2 separate regions of the Homo sapiens genome follow, and region 2 is linked to region 1. The links are contacts of gene promoters, found by promoter capture Hi-C in human tissues and cell types (Jung and others, 2019). All regions are on one chromosome and are shown on one strand. The core of a region is centred on a gene start or on the middle of the fragment in contact, and the rest is flanking DNA. Distances in the headings are between cores, read along the strand shown.

Region 1 (6,107 bases), core at 1,994-4,493:
TGCCCAGGTCTTGAGCTCCTGGGCTCAAGCGGTCCTCCCACCTCAGCCTCCCAAAATGCCAGAATTAACAGATGTGAGCTACCGATCCTAGCCCATCCCCACACTCTTGAATTTCACACCACCCAAATTTGAGCCACTAACTCAGAGTTCTCCCCATGGCTTCACTATATCTAGCTTCCTCCTGTGCTCCATCTGAACACATATTATTCATTCCCTCATATAAGATATGCTGCTCTTCTTGTTTTCCCTATCATATTAGTTGGTGCTACTAGCCACCAAGACTCTCAAGCCAAAAGACTGAAAATTATCCTAGTTTACACTTTCCCTCACCCCACTCTTAATCAGTCACTTTATTCTTCCTCTGTGTATCTGAATCTCATCCACTTCTCTCCATCCTCACAGCCATCGCCCGTTTGCCCACCTGGTTTCACTAGACTGGACTCTACCCTCAAATCTCACCATCCTCCACCCTATTCTCCCATTCCCCCTGTCAGACACTTCCTCACGTTGCATAAAAGGTTAGTTATCATAAATGATTCACTACAATCTGTTCCCAAGCTTTACCCTCCAGCACTGCTAAGACACTTCATTTTGGCATGCACCATTTTGTAAGATACTCAAAATCCTTTTCGGGACAATAAAATATACATACCCTTGATACCTGAAGTGTGTTTCTGAGGCCCTGAAGCGTTTGCATTACTGTATTAAAAACTCACAGTTGCAGTCAGGCCCGGTGGCTCATGCCTGTAACTCCAGCACTTTGGGAGGCCAAGCCAGGCAGATCACTGGAGATCAGGAGTTCGAGACCAGCTTGGCCAAGATAGTGAAACCTGATGTCTGCTAAAAATACAAAAAATTAGCCCGGTGCGGTGGTGGGTTCCTGTAATTCCAGCTACTCAGGAGGCTGAGGCAGGAGAATCGCTTGAACCCAGGAGGCAGAGGTTGCAGTGAGCTGAGATCATGCCACTGAACTCTAGCCTGGGTGACAGAGCAAGACTCCATCTTAAAAAAAAAAAAAAACCAGCCAGGTGTGGTGGCTTATGCCTGTAATCGTAGCACTTTGGGAGGCCGAGGCAGGCTGATCACCTGAGGTCGGGAGTTCAAGACCAGCCTGACCAACATGGAGAAACTCTGTTTCTACTAAAATTACAAAATTAGCTGGGTGTGGTGGTACATGCCTGTAATCCCAACTACTCAGGAGGCTGAGGCAGGAGAATCGCTTAAACCCGGGAATCGGAGGTTGCGGTGAGCCAAGATCATGCCATTTGGGCGGCAAGAGCGAAACTCCATCTCAAAAAAAAAAAAAAAAAATCCACAACTGGCTGGGCACGGTGGCTCATGCCTGTAATTCTTGTTTCGGAGGATGCCTGTTTGGGAGGATCGCTTGGGCCCACAAGTTTGAGACCAGCCTGGGCAACATAGTGAGACCCCGCCTTTACAAAAAATTTAAAAATTAGCCAGGTACAGTGGCATGCACCTGTGGTCCCAGCTATTGAGGACACTGAAGTGGGAGGGTCACCTGAGCCCAGGAGGTTGAGGCTGCAGTGAGCCATGATTGTACCACTACACTCCAGCTTGGGTGACAGTGAGACCCTGTGTCAAAAAAAAAAAAAAATCCAAAATCTCACCCAGACCAATACTGTATCAGAATTATCATTTTAACAATATCTCCAGATGATTTATATGCACATTAAAGTTTGAGAAGCTGGCCAGGTGTGGTGGCTCACACCAGCACTTTGGGAGGCCGAGGCAGATAGGTTACTTGAGCTCAGGAATTCGAGACCAGCCTGGGCAACATGGTGAAACCTTGTCTCTATAAAAAATCCAAAAATTAGCCCGGTGTGGTGGTGGGCACCTGTGGTCCCAGCTACTCAGGAGGCTGAGGTGGGAGGATGGCCTGAACCCAGGAGGCAGAGTTTGCATTGAGCTGAGATTACACCACTGCATTCCAGCCTAGGCAGCAGAGCAAAACCCTATCTCAGAAAATAAATAGTTTGAGAAGCAATCTTTTTTTAAATGAGTGAAGAAATCAGACCTAAGGAGAAATCTGATGAAGCCAGAGCTGAGTTAATATTGATAAATGGATGCAGTCAGGTGGTCTATACTTAATTTTTGGTGAGGGGAAGGGACAGTGGAGGCAGTATTGATTTTGAGGAAGCCAAACAGGACAGCCTGATGAATTCAAGATTTCCAGCATATATACATCTTCACCAATCCCACCACCTTGCTCCAGCCTGTCATATCACTGTGTCTACATAAAAAAAAAAAACAAAAAAAAAACTCCAAGGCCAAACTCTCTGACCTTTCTTTCCTTCTAAAGACCAAGCCCTCCTCACTAGCCCCCTGCCCCTCCTTAGTTAACTGGCAAAGAGATCAAAGGGCAGGCCTTCTGACTGGTGATGCCTCAGCTGTAGCCCCCAAACTTGACTCATCCTTTTATTAGTCCAGGTACCACTTCTTCAGAAAGATGACCAGCCCTCACTGACCTTCCCCTTCCTGCTGTGCTCCAGGCCATCAAGGCATGTGTCACCCAGGCTGGAGTGCAGTGGTGCAATCTCCGCTCACTGCAACCTCCGCCTCCTGGGTTCAACCTATCCTTCCACCTCAGCTTCCCGAGTAGCTGGGTCTACAGGCGCATGCTGCCGCACCCGGCTAATTTTTGTATTTTTAGTAGAGTCTAGGTTTCACCATGTTGCCCAGGCTGGTCTCAGACTCCTGGGCTCAAGCTATCCACCCGCCTTAGCCTCCCAAAGTGCTGGGATTACAGGCCGTGAGCCACCGCACCCGGCCTTGTACTGTTACTGTTTATGGGAGGCAGTACACAGCTGGGCTTAAGGGCACAGTCCTGGAATCAGATGCAGTCAGATTTGAATCCCAGCTTCCCTTCCTGCAAGATGTGTGACTTTGGCTAATCATAGTGCTTTACTATCCAAAAGTTGGCAAGGAATGGGTGAACTAATACAGGATAAAAACGCTTGCCCTACTTCACCTGCCCCCAGCTCCCGGCTATAAACAGTAAATAGCTGAGCTGCTGCAGCACTCAGGCAGGTTGGCCAGCGCTGGGCCAGCAGGAACTGGAAGCTGGTGTGGGGCCTGGGACTTTGGACGCATTTCCAGCTTTCTCTGAACCGGGCTGGCTTCCTAGCAGATAGGGCGGGACCGTCGGGTTGAGTGACGGCCGGTGGCCCGCCCTGGGCGTGACGTTGTTCTAGTGTTGTTGCCAGCAGCTGCACGTGGTCGGCTGAGTCCGCCTCAGACTCAGAGCTGCGCTCCTCGACCTCAACGCCAGGCGGTTACTTTGCTGCTCCTCCCGCTCGCTATGTCAACGTCCACTAGCTGCCCGATTCCCGGGGGCCGGGACCAGCTGCCCGACTGCTACAGCACCACGCCGGGGGGCACGCTATACGCCACTACCCCCGGAGGTCAGCGGGCCGGGCAGGGGTCCGCAGGCTGCGGACATATTAGCGCGTGCGTGTTGTTGCGGGGCGGGGGTAGGGGAGGGACAGACCTAAGACTTGTCCGCAGGCCCCTCTACAGGTTGTAGCTTTGGGGGAGAATGTTTGGAGCGGAAGCTCAGTTCCCAAAAACTTCTAAGTGATGCAACAAGGCCATGAGCCTAGCTTCCGGGTGTTTGGGCTGTAATCCTTCACTGTGGCCTGGGTTCTTGGAGCCTTACACACGCTCCTTACCCCTCGCGACTTTGCTTCCTAGGAATAGGGGCCAGGGCCCCCTACTGAGCGTGACCTCAGCCGGAAGCACCGGGTCTTGAGAAGTGGAGTAGTTAGAACAGTTGGGGCAGTTGCTCCGTTTTTGTGCTGCTGGCTGGCGTCTGTTTGGTTGGGCGAGCAGCCTGGGATCACGAGCTGCTGGGCTCCCGACCCAGGGATTCCTGCCACGCGGAAGCGGAGGGGAGGAACAGGGCAGGACCCTTTGAGGACATTATGCGGGCCAAGTTCCTCTGAGCTAGTGTGAACCTTATAGGACCTGGGAGGGGTCAGGATTAGAACAGTACGTTTCTCCTCCCTGCAGGAGATAGCCCAGGTAACAGCACTGGGTGGAACCCTTCACAACTGCTATTTCACTTCTTGAACCACCTGAGGCTGTTAGTCTAGGTCTCACCTTCACTGGTGAGACCAAAGCAGAGGTTTCAGAGTGGTAGAGGAGCAGCATGAAGTACCTGAACTCAAAGTTTGGTGTTCCTCTTAGAGCCAAGATCTGAAGCTCTCCCAAACATAAAGCCCCTGCCTATACCAGCTGGGATGCCCCCCTTGCTTTATACCCACATCTTGGTTAGGTCTGGAAGATTTTAAGCACTATGAAGGCTTGTCTGCTGAGAACCTAGCTGGGCTTCAGAGCCGATGTCCTTTGATACACAGGGAAATTTGACACCACCCTCACCTCCAGGCCCCAAAAGGCCTGAGTCTGGGACCCCAGTCACCTCGGTACCCAAGCTCCTGACTCTTACCTCAGTCCCAACCCCTTGACAGGCACCAGGATCATCTACGACCGAAAGTTCCTGCTGGAGTGCAAGAACTCACCCATTGCCCGGACACCCCCCTGCTGCCTCCCTCAGATTCCCGGGGTCACAACTCCTCCAACAGCCCCTCTCTCCAAGCTGGAGGAGCTGAAGGAGCAGGAGACAGAGGAAGAGATACCCGGTAAGGAAAGCAGGAATTAAGAATTGTCCCAGCCTTTGAGTTCAAATGCCACTGTGACACAGTGCGGGGGTTCAGTTCCAAGAGGGGTTTCTGCACTGATGCTGAGCCTGCAGATCCTCAGACCAGCAACCTGTCTTCCTGCCTTTTCTCTCTCCAGATGACGCACAATTTGAAATGGACATCTAATCCAGTGCAGATGACCTGGCATGTGGAGTTACAGAGGGATCCCTCATGCCACTGCTGCCACCACCTCTTCCTGGGGCATCCAAAGGCCAGCTGGCCTCATCTAATCTGGAAGGGAGTGACTTGTTAGTTCCAGGCCTCCTTTAGTTCTGAGGCAGCTAGACCAGGGATAGGAGTGGGCAACTTGCCAAGCCCTTAACTCTACTTCCTCTTCAGTCTGTGGTACTCCTCCTAACCCTAAACCCTCTATGCTCAGGGGCTGGAACTGGGGAATGGAGTAAGTCACCTTCTGACTGCTTAGTAAACATTCAAAGAAATGCCTTGGCTCCAGTGTTCTCCTCAATGCTGATTTTCTCATCTCAGCCACACAGCTGAAGGCCCTGGCAGGCCTGGTTAAGCTCAGAGGCCTCAGATCATTCCCAGCTCCCACCAGGCCCACTTCCAGCAGCAATTAGAACCTGAGGCACGCTACAGTGGCAGGTTACATGAGCCTCCAAACCATAAACAGCAATAGCTTGGCCACTGCCAAGGGCTGTTCCTGTCTTCCCAGGAAGCAGCCTTCCTGGAACCAGGGCCCCCCAGCAGCCCCTCCCCTATCCATTCCAAAGCAGGACTCTTGGAAAAGAGGTGCTGTCCCAGCCTATAGCCATCCTGTCTCTCCCTGTGCCTTTTCTGCTTCCCACCTCTAAGCACCAGTTCCTCTATTCCAACACCAAAAACCTTGTACCCTTCTCACAGCATGATAGTCCACCAAGTACCTCTCTCAAAGGGTTACAAGAGACCTTAGAGTTCACACTGAAACCCAAAATGAGGCAGCAGTTTGTTTGGCAAGTCAGAGTTACAATCCCCAATCTCAGTAATCTGGTCTTTTTCTCCTTCGATTTACACAGAAAACCCCACTCAATGTGGTTCTAATCTCTGTAACAGTAGTATCTCAAGGGTGATACAGTGCAAATAGGACTGTCTTTCCTTTTGTTGAGGGAAAAGTCTCCCCGTTCTATTTGAGTCTGTTCTCATGCTGAAATGAAACCATCCAAACACAGCTGCTCCGCCCAGCACAGGATGTGCTTTCAGTCTACTTTGGGAAAAAGTGGTAGGCAGTAGTCTGACTTTACCCAGCAGATCCCTTCCTGATGAATGGAGAAGGGAGAACAGAGGTTTGCAGATACACAGGGAGCAGGGCAGTCGAGGACACCAGAGGGGACTAGCTTGGCACCGGAAGGGTTCATCTCTCCTACCCAAGGCCCACCGCAGAGATGTTTTTAT
Region 2 (6,089 bases), core at 1,628-4,127, 190 kb after region 1:
GGAGATTTAACAACCCATGTAGGTAAGATCACCCAACAGGCTGCCTGGTTACAGGAGGTACAAACCACAGATCCCCTTAATAACGTTTTTAGCTGACTCATTGCAGTATTAGAAATTACTTCCAATCCATCTTACAAACCCTTGTCATTATCATATCACTATCTTGTTCCTATTTTTGATAGTCAAAGTACTTATAAGATCTATAACCAACTACTTCAAGTCTGTCACTAAAACCAAAGTTATGGTAGCACAATGCATAGAAATGACAGACAACATAAACATAAACTTACCTTCTCAACTTTTCTGTTGTTACTGTTTTTCTAGTCTCAAAGGTTCAAAGGGTCTTAATAGCTGTCTGCCTCCTTCTTGCCTGGCCTAAAATATTCAACTGGTTGTAAGTCTCCTAGCCACATGAGTCCCACTGACAGACTAGATAGACCTGGGGCAGGTATCCACACCATCCTGGGAACGACATGGGACATGTTAGAAAATTTAGCCATCAATGCTGCCTATGGCAGATTTCAGCCTAAAGCTGGAAAGTGTGAAATAAAACTAAAGTCCCTAAGCCCCTAGGTGAAACAGAATGGACTTCTTGTTGCAAAAGAGACCCCAGAAACTTTGAAAACTGCATTCTATGGCTTTGGCAAGGCAAGAGGTCAGTCACACCTCAACACTCCCCTACCTTGTTAACTGCCTCAAAACTTTCCTTCCTACAATTAAACAGAAACGAGTTCCTAAAAAACTGTCTGGAAGATTTCTCCCTCAACCTCAAGAGACCTCTTGATGTCATGGCTGACCTCCCCTCTTTTATCGTGGTTTCACCATGACTACTGACCAGCCTTATTAAACATTCCATTGTTATACTGACCACCGACCACAGACTGATTGCACCTAGTCCACAGAGGCTGTGCACAAGATGCCTTTGTGTTCTGTTTCACCTTGTTATATATAAACAGCCACGTGCCACTTCACTTTACTATTAAATCCCCACCCCAAAATGAACATGGAACATATGTAACATATATGTTTATTCTCTTTGCATGCATTAGGGTTTTCTCAAATATTCATAGATTCTCCTATAAGCTACTGAATATGTACATATAGCTCATCTTGTTGGGCATAAGTCCCAGCTTCTCCCTTTTGTCTCTGAAGCAGATGCTTTTCATTTTGGCTGGATGTTTCATTTCCCAACCTGCAGATTGTAACCATTTATAGGAAATAAAACTCTCTTTTTTCTTCTTCCTCAAATCTCATGATCTTTTGTTAATACTTCCCTTCCCAGCAGGGGGGATTATATGAGAAGACTGGACTTAGACCTCTACCCAGTGGTAATGTGGCCATCCTCACTGTGGTGTCAGGGGAGCCAGAACTTCCATGCTTACCCAGCAGTAACAATGAGCTCCCTTCTTCAGGTGGCAATGGAGGCTCTGTGGGGAACCTGGACTTCTGCCTGCACCTGGCAGTAATTAGGTGACATCTCCTTCTTTCTCTGTTCCCCCTTCTGCCTAAATGGTATCAGAGAAATCCCACTAAAACAGAAGGTTTAAATAGGATCCAGAGTAGCGGAATATAATATGAACATATCCAGGTTTTAATGAAAAGTTACTTATCATACCAGAAGATCTCAAACAGAATGAAAAAATGACAATCAACAGATGCCAACATTGTGATGACAGAGATATTAGAATTATCTGACAGAAATTTTAAATTAGCCATTGTAAAAATGCTTCAATAAGCAATTATAAACATTCTTGGAATAAATGAAAAATAGAATGCATAAGCAAAGAAATAGATGATAAAAGAAGAACTAAATGGAAATTTTAGAACTGAAAAATATAATAACTGAAATAAAAACCTCAGTGGATGGGGTGGGTGGGTTCAGCAGCATAATGGAGGAGGCAGAAAAAATAACAAGTGAACTAGAAGATAGAATAATAAAAATTATCCAACCTAAACAACAGAGAGAAATTAGACGGAAAAAAATGAATAGACTTTGATAAGTTGTGGACAGAGCAACCGCTAACATGTTATACAAAGAGATGCACTAAAAAACATAGTATTAACTCAAAATAGAATTTTAGAAAATATTAAAGTAAGATGAAGGCACGAAGAATAAAACAGAGAAGTGAAAATCCAAATGAACAGGAGGCCAGGTGCAGTGGCTCACACCTATAATCCCAGCATTTTGGGAGGCCGAGGTAGGAGGATCACTTGAGGCCAGAAGTTTGAGACCATCTTGGGTGACATAGTGAGACCTCGTCTCTACAAAAAAATAAAAATAAAAAAGCCCCAAAATGAACAATTAGTAAAATACAACATAGATTTCCTTTAGTAACAATTCTCCTCATATCCTTCCTTATTCTTCTTTTTATTCTTCTCTATGATTACCTATTAATGATGAAATACTAGATGTTTTACTTTCTATTTCTTCATAGGATTCCTCTGAATATATTTCTTTCTTTCTCTCTCTCTCTCTTTTTTTTTTTTTTTGAGACAGAGTCTCACTCTGCTGCCCAGGCTGGAGTACAGTGGTGCGATCTCAGCTCACTGCAACCTCTGTCTCCCAGGTTCAAGTGATTCTCATGCCTCAGTTTCGTGGGATTACAGGTGCACACCACCACTCCCGGCTAATTTTTGTATCAGTAGAGACAAAGTTTCACCATGTTGCCCAGGCTGGTGAACATGTTTCTTAATCGTATTCATCCTTTTTAGAATGACAGGGTGGCTTCTCAGAGGTACCATTGGGATCACCTCCAAGTTCTGCAGAATAATTAACTTTTTTTTTTCTTTTTTGAGACAAAGTCTTACTCTGTTGCCCAGGCTGGAGTGCAGTGGTGTGATCTTGGTTCACTGAAACCTCCGCCTGGAGGGTTCAAGCAATTCTCCTGCCTCAGCCTCCCTGGTAGCTGGGCTTACAGGTGTGGGCCACCACACCTGGCTAATTTTTATATTTTTAGTAGAAATGGGTTTCACCATGTTGGCCAGGCTGGTCTGGAACGCCTGACCTCAAGTGATCCACCCACCTAGGCCTCCAAAAGTGCTGGGATTACAGGCGTGAGCCACCACCCCTGGCCCAGAACAAGCAACTTTCAGCCTGATTCTTAAGCATGGGCCTTTATGATAACATTTGTCGTTATAAAATAATTTGTGAGTTGCTCCCTCACTGCCAATTTAATATTTTTAAATTTTAAAACCTATTTTATTTTTAAAAATTTTACTTCTGACCCATGAGATGTAATTAATATTTGTTTTTATAATGAAGCGTCAGGTTTGTTTTTCTTATAAATGACCTTTCATGAATATTTACTTCCATGTTCAGAAAATTTGCTATTCTTATTACCTACTAGTTTTTCTGTAAATTTGCTGGATATTATAATGTTTATAATCATATTAACTCTAAATAAGGAGAGTTTTATACTCGTATTAACTCTAAACATACAGAGTTTTAACTCTAAATAAAAAAGTTTCATATAAGAAGGTGTATCTTCTCACTCATAAGTGGGAGCTAAGCTATGAGGCTGCAAAGGCATAAGAATGATACAGTGCACTTTGGGGACTCAGGGGTGTAGGGTGGGAAGTGGGTGAGGGATAAAAGACTACAAATTGAGTTCAATGTATACTGCTCTGGTGACGGGTACACCAATATCTCACAAATCACCACTAAAGAACTTACTCACGTAACCAAATACCACCTGTTCCCCAAAATCCTACGGAATAACCTCCTTATACTTTTCCCCTTCTTTTTCTAACCATGGAGAATGCCATATGAACACCTCAGACCTTTATATTTTTCTCTTGTTGTATACACTGGTTAGGCCCTTTGGAACAATGACGACAGGATGATTAAAGTGATGATAGCAGACATCCCTGTCTTGTTCTGGATTTCAAAGGGAAAGCTTTAATCATTTCACCATTAAGTATGATGTTTGCTTTAGCTTTTTTTTTTTCCCCTGGACACCCTTACCAAGTTACAAATATTCTCTTATATGCCTAAGGATACAACTAATATCTGCTAAAAATCTTAAGATTAATTAAGATTATTTTAAAATCATGAAAGGTTGTTGAATTTTATTAAGTAATTTTTCTGCATGTACATAGATAATCATGATTTTCCCTTTAGTTCATTAACTTTGCATATATACTAATTACTTTTATAATGTTAAGTCAACCTCATATCTTGGAGAAATTCTACTTATGCTGTATTATTCTTTTTTATGTACTACTGGATTTAATTTTCTAATAATTAGTATGGGTTTTTTTTCATTTATTTACATTAATGACATTAGACTGGGCTTTTCCTTTTTTGTGTGTATTTTTTACAATAGGATTCACTATCAGGTTATTTTAGCATTAGAAAATCATTTAGGAAGTGTTCCTTCTTATTAATTAGGATAGTTTGTATATGATTGAAATGACTTAATTTTTCTTTTCTTTCTTTTTCTTTTATTGAGACAGGCTCTTGCTCTCTCACCCAGGCTGGAATGCAGTGGTGCGATCATGGCTCACTGCAGCTTCCACCTCCTGGGCTCAAGCGATCCTCCTGCCTCAACCTCTCAAGAATCTGGGACCACAGGCACATACCACACGCCCAGCTAATTTTTTATTTTTAGTCGCGATGAGGTCTCACTGTGTTGCATGGGATGATCTCGAACTCCTGGGCTCAAGCCATCCTCCTACCTCGGCCTCCCAAAGTGTTGGGATTATAGGTGTGAGCCACTGTGCCTGGCCCTAACAATTCTTTGTTAGATGAATATTCATGTTAACATTTTTATGCCTTTGCAAAATATAATTCCCAGCAGAACATGGTCATATACCATGATTGTCTCCTTTTCTTCTTTCTACTTTTCCTGAAGTTAATGCTTGACTTTTCTTCATGTGCTTAGTTTTCCTTGGACCTCTTGTTAATTTTTTGCACATTCTTCAATAACTCTTAGTACAGTTTTCTATGTGGTATATCATTTCAGGTAATCAGAGAAAGTATTAATACAAAAGAGCTATAAGATACCAGAATGTTTAGGCCCAGATCCAGAGAGGAGTAATTGTTGTGGGTTATTACCTAGTAACCAGGTAACAATGAAGCTCTGGTAGCTTTAAAGACCCAAGGCTGGCATTTGGCAGTTTGGGAGGATTTCATGGGTCTGACTCATGTACTGGCTGTGAAAGTTGATTTGAGCTAAAATGACCCCGGTTTGGTCATCTGGGAAGCACTGAGGCTGGTCCAAGACTTGTGGCAGGTAGCCACTGAGTGGGAGGAGGGAGAGTGAGCCTAGACACAGCTGGGGGAACAGTTTTTAGGGAAAGGAAGACATGGGTTTCTCTCAGTGGTGTGCATCCTCAAATGGGGGCTTCCCAAGTTTGTGTGTCCTGGTCTGGAAGTTGTGGTGGGTAGAAGGAAACTTAAAACTCAGCATCGTTCTTGAACCATTCAGGCCTAGGCTGACCCTACTGCCCAGGGTATACCAACTCATGACACTTATCTGTCAAGGAACTCCAAATTCAATCTACTTTCTGCATTATCTCAGTGATATATTTGCATGCTTCTTCCTGTCTGTGTTTTGGGGGCAGGTTTGATGTCCATGGACCCTCTTTAGTCCTCTATGTATGTCCCCACCAAGCTTATCATTTTCTTGGAGATGGGAGAGAGCCCTTTTTCAAGGAGGGGTCTAAAACGGCATGGATTCCTGAGAAGACTAGGCTGGGTCAGGAGCTGAAGAGGTTTAAGGTTGGGACAGAAACTCTGGAGGTTAGCCTTGGTAAGAGTCTTTTGAGACCTACTCCATGAGTAAATCTGCTCTTCACCAAATTTCCAGATCCCCACAGTTCCTCTGAGCAGCTTCTCACTACTGTCATCTCTCCCAGATATGAACCAAATCCCTGGTTGCCAAGACAAGTTGACAAGGTTTGAAAAAGAAACTATTTTGAAACAGAACTTCAAGGAAAAATAAGAACCCATTCTCAGGCAAATCCTAGCAGCTTTGATTAGTAAAGAAACAGCAGTCCTTGTTTGATTCAGACAGTTTATTACTTACATAGACACAAAAGGAAATAAGCAGAATTTCCAGCTCTCCCACAGGACAGCACCAATACAA

What was found. Contacts are between HindIII fragments. The study calls those that stand out against the background at their distance.
Region 2: a fragment that was not itself captured here is called in contact with the fragment with the promoter of EIF4EBP3 in region 1 in 1 of the 25 tissues and cell types used here (psoas muscle).

Annotation. Positions count from the first base shown.
Region 1 is chr5:140,544,419-140,550,525 of GRCh38, forward strand. It overlaps EIF4EBP3 (eukaryotic translation initiation factor 4E binding protein 3), which reads left to right and starts at 3,244. Exons shown (of 3, transcript NM_003732.3): 1 at 3,244-3,422; 2 at 4,488-4,658; 3 at 4,816-5,158. The coding sequence starts at 3,320. The coding sequence ends at 4,844. It overlaps ANKHD1-EIF4EBP3 (ANKHD1-EIF4EBP3 readthrough), which reads left to right. Exons shown (of 36, transcript NM_020690.6): 35 at 4,488-4,658; 36 at 4,816-5,158. The coding sequence ends at 4,819. It overlaps SRA1 (steroid receptor RNA activator 1), which reads right to left. Exons shown (of 5, transcript NM_001035235.4): 5 at 5,650-6,107. RefSeq lists enhancers at 2,191-2,899, 2,900-3,606, 3,367-3,456, 3,607-4,314. The HindIII fragment of the contact is 4,539 bases long and covers 1-4,186 here.
Region 2 is chr5:140,735,956-140,742,044 of GRCh38, forward strand. All of the region lies in intron 3 of LOC105378198 (a long non-coding RNA gene), which reads left to right. Among named protein-coding and RNA genes, the nearest start is that of ZMAT2, 39 kb to the left of the region's middle. The HindIII fragment of the contact is 3,756 bases long and covers 1,000-4,755 here.